Linked DNA regions of Homo sapiens: regions 1 and 2 are each linked to region 3. Evidence: promoter capture Hi-C in 16 types of primary human blood cells and fetal thymus (Javierre and others, 2016). All regions are on one chromosome and are shown on one strand. The core of a region is centred on a gene start or on the middle of the fragment in contact, and the rest is flanking DNA. Distances in the headings are between cores, read along the strand shown.

What was found. Contacts are between HindIII fragments. The CHiCAGO score rates a contact against its expected background, and 5 or more counts as called.
Region 1: a contact is called between a fragment that was not itself captured here and the fragment with the promoter of FANCB in region 3, in 1 of 17 cell types (activated CD4 T cells). The highest score is 5.6, in activated CD4 T cells.
Region 2: a fragment that was not itself captured here is called in contact with the fragment with the promoter of FANCB in region 3 in 1 of 17 cell types (M2 macrophages); the score reaches 5.4 in M2 macrophages.

What each region holds. Positions count from the first base shown.
Region 1 is chrX:15,142,590-15,145,289 of GRCh38, forward strand. No RefSeq gene overlaps it. Among named protein-coding and RNA genes, the nearest start is that of ASB9, 130 kb to the right of the region's middle. The HindIII fragment of the contact is 3,441 bases long and covers 1-2,700 here.
Region 2 is chrX:15,246,206-15,248,905 of GRCh38, forward strand. ASB9 (ankyrin repeat and SOCS box containing 9) reads right to left here. Exons shown (of 7, transcript NM_001031739.3): 6 at 2,539-2,700. Among named protein-coding and RNA genes, the nearest start is that of ASB9, 23 kb to the right of the region's middle. The HindIII fragment of the contact is 5,569 bases long and covers 1-2,700 here.
Region 3 is chrX:14,871,719-14,874,418 of GRCh38, forward strand. FANCB (FA complementation group B) reads right to left here and starts at 1,351. Exons shown (of 10, transcript NM_001018113.3): 1 at 1,268-1,351. It overlaps MOSPD2 (motile sperm domain containing 2), which reads left to right and starts at 1,703. Exons shown (of 15, transcript NM_152581.4): 1 at 1,703-1,819; 2 at 1,971-2,040. The coding sequence starts at 1,811. RefSeq lists a silencer at 1,441-1,670. The HindIII fragment of the contact is 4,870 bases long and covers 1-2,700 here.

The sequences.
Region 1 (2,700 bases), core at 16-2,515, 270 kb after region 3:
TTACACAACGACTCTTCAGTTCTTTCTGTTTCTCTTTCTTTCAGTAACTTCTTTGTGGCTCCAATTGAGATCTTCAGAGTGAGCCTTCACTATTTAATCTAGCAGCTGACCACAAACCATGTCACAGGCAGAAAAACAGAAGCATAAGGACTAACTCATCCTGAATTAATGAAAACTCTTGGAGGAAAGGGTTTTTGGTGTGTGTGTGTGTGTTTTTAAAGATCTTACAAGGAAAGCAAAACTTCAAATCAAAAGAAAGCTGTTGTCAGCTATGAAGGCAGCACTGGCAAAGTTCAGGAGACTAGCTGAACTCATTTTAAGCAATTCAATATAAAGGTGACTCCTTTCTGCCCTTTCTCACTTGGTTTCCCTCCTTCTGAATGAAAGTGTCCCTACTGTGACAGGTGAGGACAGAGCTCTTGAGTTGAAATATCTGCAAATGGTCTGTGTGACCTTGGATAATTGTTTTGACAAACATGAGACCACATCTTTGTATGGTATAAGTTCATAAAGACCTGTTTCAACATAAGCAAATAGAAGCCAAAATATAAGGAACGCATTGTATGTGCAGGGTTTGTATCATTGGAAGGTCAGACCATGAAGAGGTGGATTTGGCCTTTAGTTGCTGACTCCCACCCCAACACCAGCCCCATTCCCCAGCCTTCTCTAGGAAGCCAGCTCCCTACCACACTCTCCCCATTCTTGCTCTCAGTAATTTCTCCCCATTTTTAAAAAAACATAAATCTATACAATTTGTCCTTAATTGAAATGAGCCAGAGTCTCCCCCCTCACTGCCTTCTTATTCTGCATTTTCTTCTTTTTGTTTCCCACTTCCAACTCTCATTTAAAACAATCCTGGTAGTGGCGAGGTATAGTAGAGCACCAGTTCCGAAGCCTCAATCTGAATCTCATCTCGCCACCTAGTGGCCACGTAACCCTTGGCAACACACCTTTGGAATTGCACTTTTTCAGTTGAAGTGCGGTGATAAACAATTTTGCAAAGAGGAGTATTTTATAATAAAGTGAAATAATACATGTGGAATTGTTTTGAAAATTATCTATTACTAATGTGAAGTTATGATAACTAGTAAGTCCCCTTTTTATTGGGAGTTTGGGTTGGGATTTTCTCTTACTTGAAAATATAAGCACCACAAACACAGCTTCTAATTGATATTCTGTTTAATCTTCTGCCCCTTCCACCCCTTCATTCCATCTTCTGCCATCCAGGACTTAACTCAGATCAAGATTAACTCAGACCAAGATTCAGGAACAGAGCTAAGTCCTTAAGTGGCAAAGTCAAACCAGGAATTTGACTAACATGAAGAATTGGGAAGAACCACCTGGTGGCACTGAACCTCGTAGTAAATCCAAAGAAAAGGTAACTTTAAAGGATTCTGGAAGATGAAGCAACAGGCTGAGACAACAGGAATGGGAAAGAAAGTCTCAAACAGAGCTTTGCAGTGTGTCTGAGATCAGCCCCAAAGACCTTGTTTTCTTAAGGACATCTGACTGAAATGTATTTGGACTCAGCTGTGGATGTTCTGTAGAAGCAAGAAAAAAAAATGGTTTTTTTACTGAAGAAAAAGTACAATTCTGTAATCTTGTTCTGAATATGTTTTCTATCCTGAGATTCCTTGCCCATCAGGGAAATAGATTCTTGTACTTTGAACAGCTGCCTGAGAGTGGAATAGAAATTTTGTATAAAGCTGAGGCTCTGAGGAGACCTCAGGGACAGAGTTATATCCCCAAGGCTGTAGCTTTTATCAGTTTTTACCTCTTGTCTGGTGGTTACGGATGCAACTAGCTATGAATACAAAAGGCTTCTGTTTGGACATACTCCTAGCATTTTCTCATAGAAGAATTTTCCCCAAAAAATAATGGCGATAGTGCTGACCACTCAAAAAGTCAGAATCTATCCACTTCTGGCCCTAACCATTCAATCACAAGTCAAAGGGGCATGCATCTGAAGATCTCCTCATATCACTCATACAATGTTCCTTGATAATTTGGCACATGATCATTTTGGCCAAGTGAGTGGACTTGATTTTAAGGACACCAACACTACTGCCCGTTTCCATAGCCACGTACAAAGTGGCCCTGGTCTTCATGCAGTTATAAGCACTTTGAAGTCATCTAGGCATTTCCCTTCCAGTGGGCTAGTAGTCGGGAATTAATTTGGCTTGTGGTCCATATGTTGGGAATATGTAGTTAGGAGTTAAATTTTATTGTGATCAGGGGACTGTAGCAAGTCATTTGCAAAAGAATTGAATTGTCTATCTTTCTTGGACAGAAGTAGAAATGTTTTTAGATAAAAATATGATTATGATTTATTTGGATACAAATTTCATTCTTTCTCTCTCTCTCTCTCACCAAGATATCCTGTTTAGTGTTCTAGCAATAACTGTAGTGTGTAAGCTCCCCCCAAACATGTGAGCTGACGGACTCTAAATCTCTCAAAAGTATTAACTTATTGATCCTTAAACATCCACATCCCATGCTAATTTTAATTTGGTGTTATTTTAAATTAGCAATAAATTGACATATCTTTATACATATATATGCACAAAAAGGATAAATAGTATAACCAAATCAGCTAGTATTTTGCAGGCAATTTGTCTTGAGGCTGATGTTGGGATTAAGTTATAGCCAAATCAAGTAAAGATAAGAAGTACCAACCATCCAACCAATCTGCTCATCTCC
Region 2 (2,700 bases), core at 201-2,700, 370 kb after region 3:
ATGTCACAGGAAACTCAGTGTATTAATAACTACTGATGCCAACTGAATGCTGCTGTTTACTACAAGTAAGACAATGTAAAACAACTGTAGCTTCAAGTCCATAGACACAGAGCTGAAAACCCACTACAGATTTGCAGTCACTTGCTGGCACCTGCAAATATTCAAGGGGTTTGCTTTGCTCGGTAATAAAACCAGCTAATTGTGTATTTATGAATTGGCATATTCCTTTGGGCCTTGATTTCTTTTTTCCCCCAGCAACAACCATTGATGTTTTGTTTTTTGTTTTTTGAGACTGAGTCTCACTCTGTCGCCCAGGCTGGAGTGCAGTGGTGTGATCTCAGCTCACTGCAAGCTCCACTTCCCAGGTTCACACCATTCTCCTGCCTCAGCCTCCCGAGTACCTGGGACTACAGGTGCCTGCCACCACGCCCGGCTAATTTTTTTTGTATTTTTAGAAGAGACGGGGTTTCACCGTGTTAGCCAGGATGGTCTCTATCTCCTGAACTCATGATCCACCCACCTTGGCCTCCCAAAGTGTGGAGATTACAGGCGTGAGCCACCGTGCCCGGCCAGCAACAACCATTGATGTTTTAAAGCCAAAGTGCACTGGGTGAGGGGGGATGGGGGCTGCGGTCATGTTGGGCTGACAGTCATTTCTAGGTTTTAATTGAGCAAACACTGCTTTAGATGCTTATCAAGGGTGAGGTGGCAATATTCTTAAAATCTTTTCCCTTTTCTCAGAAAACGGGAAAATCTTACCTTTCCTAACACCCACGCAAAGCCCAATTCAGAACATGGTTGGGTTTTACCAACATTCTCCTGTTGCCATACCATTGAAAGAGGACAGTAATTGAATAAATTCCCTTCCCCAGGAAACGGAGAAACAGGTGGACTGAAGCAAATGAATGTAGGGGCACCCAGAGACAGAAACTGCTGTGAGCAATCCACAGGTCTAGTTTTCTGCACTTTCCTGACCCCATTTCTTGTGGGCTCCGAGCCCTCTGAGAGGTGACTACACCAAAACCCCAAAATTGACTCATGGAGGCAAAACAAGTAGTGATTCTCTCCAGCAGCAAATGACACCTCATAAACTAGTGGGACCATAGGCCACACTGTCACCGTGCAAAACGTAAATTCAAAATTAAAGTAATTACTGTCTCTAGGAATGGCTTTGGGAAATAAAGCAGAAGGGAAAAGCCAGGGGAGGCAATTTGAGAATGCTATGAGGTTGTTTGATGGAGGAGGGGACATATACATCCTACATTAACGTATGCCCTACGTTATGACTGAGGGGGACCTGAGGCACTTTTGCCTTTATGAATCCCTTTCTCAGTGAAAACAATTAAAAATTCTATTTCACAACTGTGTTGGTATAAAGATGATTACAATCCATGTTGTTCTATTCATTTTTTATTCTGATTGTTTAAAAATTAAGATATTTTTATGGGCCTCGTAGACATAGAACTTTTTCAAAACAAGTAATTATTAAAATGCAGATAGAACTGCTCCATGATTATCCCACTGCTTAACTGTAAGGGGCCTCTACTGGACTGTTCCTTGTCCAGGCCTGGAGTCAATCTTTTCTGCCTGACCAGCACTGCTCAGGAGCATAGGCCTTGTTTGGCATGCCCCCAGGCAGGGACTTGACTGCAAGTACCCTGGGGCAGTGAGAGTAGGAGGAAGAAGGATTCCTTAGCCCACTTTACAGTTCTGCCCAAAGCCAACCTTACTGCTCATCATGTGGGGAGAAAATAACTAGATTGTATAACATCAGAATCCTTCTGGTAGGAAGGCCTGCTTCAAAGTCCCAGAATCCCTAAGACTTCAGAGTCCATACTCCGGTAAGAAAAGAAGTACTGAGCTGGTTTCTCAACTGCCTCTGAGCCCATGAAGATTGCAAGAGGTGGCTCCCCAACTTGAGGTGTCTTTGTTCCCCAGCCCAGCCCAGGCCTCAAAGCCCTACTTCCATACACACTGCTCAACCACAATATTTCATTGTTCGAGTTGGGAGTCTCAGTTCTTACTTATAGAGAAGTGTGGACTTATCATTGGTTAATTTATAATAGTAAATATCTTTGGATTGGTGTGAACCCTAAACTCTTAAACAGCTGCATTTTAAGCCCAGAAACGAAGTGTCCAGTAGTCTGGCCCATCTGTGGTTCAACAAGATATCCTGCGGCCTCTTACAACCCCAAAGAGGACTCTGCTGCCTCATTCTAAAGCATGTTTTAAATAAATGTAATACTAAAATTTTAAAACAGTATCTTAATTTTTAAAAAACTGGCCTACCCCATAATGAATATTAGATCATCCCAAAAACCTGTATCCAATATGCTAAATAGCAGGACAGTTATTTACTGTACTGTGACCAGTACTGTATCTCATTGAATATTGAATTATCTCAACTTCCCAGATTTGGTGATGTCAGAGAATGATCTTTTTATAGGAATGGGAGCCAGAAATTGCCAAATACCTGCCTTCTACTAGAGCCCCAAGGGATGTCAACAGATTAGGGCTTAGGTTTTGGCAAAGAAGCACCTTCTCTCTCCAAGAAGAGCTGGGCCAAGGGGCTCTCTGGAGGCACCAGCTCCACAGGACGTTTGCCTTCAGCATTCTTGGCCTGGGTGTCCGCTCCAAAATCCATGAGCAGGCAGGCCAGCTCTTCACTGGCTGTCCTGGCCACTGCATGAAGTGGGGAAT
Region 3 (2,700 bases), core at 101-2,600:
GCATATTATTTATGTAAAACAAATAAAACAGCATTATATATGTTCTATTTACCTACAATGACTACAGTCCCTGAGTGCTTTCTCAAGAAATAGTGCCATGTACTATTTTTTTTTTTTTTCCTGAAGAAACAGTGCCAGGTACTGCTCTAAGCACTTTGGATTAACTCGTTTCTTCCTCACAACATCCTTATGACATAGGCACTGTTACTATCCCATTTTATAGATGGAGAAACTGAGGCAAGGAGTTTCAGGATCTTCTCAAAGGCTTGCAGATAAGAAGTGACAGAGCCAGGATTCAAACCCAGGCAGTATGATCCAAAATAAAAAAATGTAAAACTGTAAACATTTCATGCCAAATTCTGAATGCTGTTGATTCTGGACAAGGAAGTGTCCAGGATAGGTGAGTAGAGGTAGAAGGAGACTTTAGTTATATCTGAAATATCTTTTAAGGATGTAGTCAAACAACGTTTAAACAATGTGTTCATTTTTTCCCATAAAAAATGTAAATATATTTAAAAGTCTAGGACAAAAGATGCTAACATGCCATTCTGTCATGGATGACTACGGTTGATGGAAATATGGGGGACTATTCTTACAACTTGTTTGTAGTTTTCAGTATCTTTCAACTTTAAAAAAGGCAATATTGTATGCGCAACTATTTTCTTTCAATTGTTTTTAACTGACGAATAAAATTTGTTCCAGTCCCTTTAAATCTAAATCTTTCTCAACCTTGACACTATTGACATTTTGGGCTGGATAACTGTTGTGAATTTTCATGTACACTGGAGGATGTTTGGCAGCTTCCCTGGTCTCTATCCACTAGTAGCCAGTGAGCATCTCTTTTGCCCCCGGCCCCTAGCAGTGGTGACTAAAAATGTCTCCAGAGGTTGCCAAAGGTCCCCTGGGTGGTAAAACCGCCCCCCCCACACACACCCCCCCACCCCCCCGGCTGAACACAACTACCTTAATAAGCCGAAACACGCTTTTTTTAACTTTATATAATTATTTGAGATTAAAGATTTCAGAGATATTTTGCTCATTAAGCATCTCACACTCCAAGTTGGAAGGATACTGAAGGGATGAAAAAAACTTCAAGCGAATGTAGCACTTAAAATCCAATTATCATTGCAAGGAATGACAGACCCAGGTCTCGGGATGCCCGCTTCCTTCCCTCTCTCCCGCAATGCGGGGACAAGGGGAGGAAATCCAGCCCCATCGCCCCCTCTGCGAAGTCCTGGGAAGGGAAGACTCGCCAGCCCCATCCTACCTCAACGCAGCGGCAACATACCGGAGGCCCCACGTCGATACGGTATCCATCTGCTCCAAACCTCCCGCCAGCGCGCTGCATCCTGGGAGGCCGGGCGGAGGCTGCGTCGAACGCAGAGGAGGCGGAGCCTAGAAGCCAGCCAGGAGAGGTGGCCAAGGGAGGCTGAGGAGGCGGGGCCCTGGGGAGTGTTGTGAAAGCAGAGAGCCCGCGAGCTCTCTAGGGCGGAGCTCCGCGGGGGAAGCGCCGGCGATCTCGCGGCTGGCGGGGGCGGGACCGCAGTGCGGGGGATGTCGCGGGGCGAGGCCAGACGAGAATCGAATGGGACCTAGGCTGAGGGCCTGGTCCCGCCTCCAGACCCAGGCGTCCGCATTGGATTGGGCGGTGCGGCGGCGCTTCTGTCCGCCTTCCGGTGTCACGCGACCGCCTCCCCCTCCCACCCTTCTCTGTCTACCTCTGGGCGGGACTGCCGGGTGATGAGATACTCGGTCGGCGACGGTAGAACGGGCGACGGCGACAACCGCAATCACATCCACGACGGTGATCATGGCAGAGGTGAGGAGCCTATTGCACCGCCGCTGGCCCCCCGGACCCGGAAGCCGCCTCTGAGGCCCGGGGACCGAGCGCCCGTGTGCAGGTGGGCTGGGTTGAGGGTAAGCGGGTTGATGCAAGTAGTATCTAAGGTCCCATCGTGTCTCCCATCCAGAATCACGCCCAGAATAAAGCCAAGCTCATCTCTGAGACCCGGAGGAGGTTCGAAGCTGAGTATGTGACAGGTGGGTACTCTGTTCCAGGTATTAAGAAAGGTGTGCAGTGAGCATCCCCAACTTTGCTGGAGTGTTTGTGAGTGTATTTGTGGGAGGTGTTAGGGACCCTTTCGACCCTCACAGGAATGATGCTGGGCACGTCTCAAAGGTTTTCCTCTCCATGACAAGCCGTGTGCACTGCTTCAAATGGTCAAGTGGTGTGTCCCATGCTCCCTTTAAAGGGTTAATGTAAGTTGGAAATCGGTTAAGTTTTTAGCATGCCCTCGTGTTTATGGAACTTGCAGGATACTTGTTAGGCCCACAACACGGGTGACATTGTCCAGTCCACGGTTCCACTGCTGGCCTTTCACCAGCAACACTAGCGAAAATGTACCTGGAAACTGCCATAATACTATTGATGTGTACTTAATTGGGTATACAAATTCCTTGGATATTTTGTTTGATTTGGCTTTCATACAACCCAGCATGCTACCCACAAAATAGGCCCTCCAATGCTGGAACAAGTTCTTATCCCAAACTGTATCTTGCAAAGTACCTATGAGTCCAGAATTGATTTATTGGTTGAACATTCTGTGTCCAGATGTCACAGATACTTGAGTTGTCAGGTACTTAACTGAATATTTAATGCTTGTACAGTAATTTTGTAAAACATACGGAATAACTTATTGT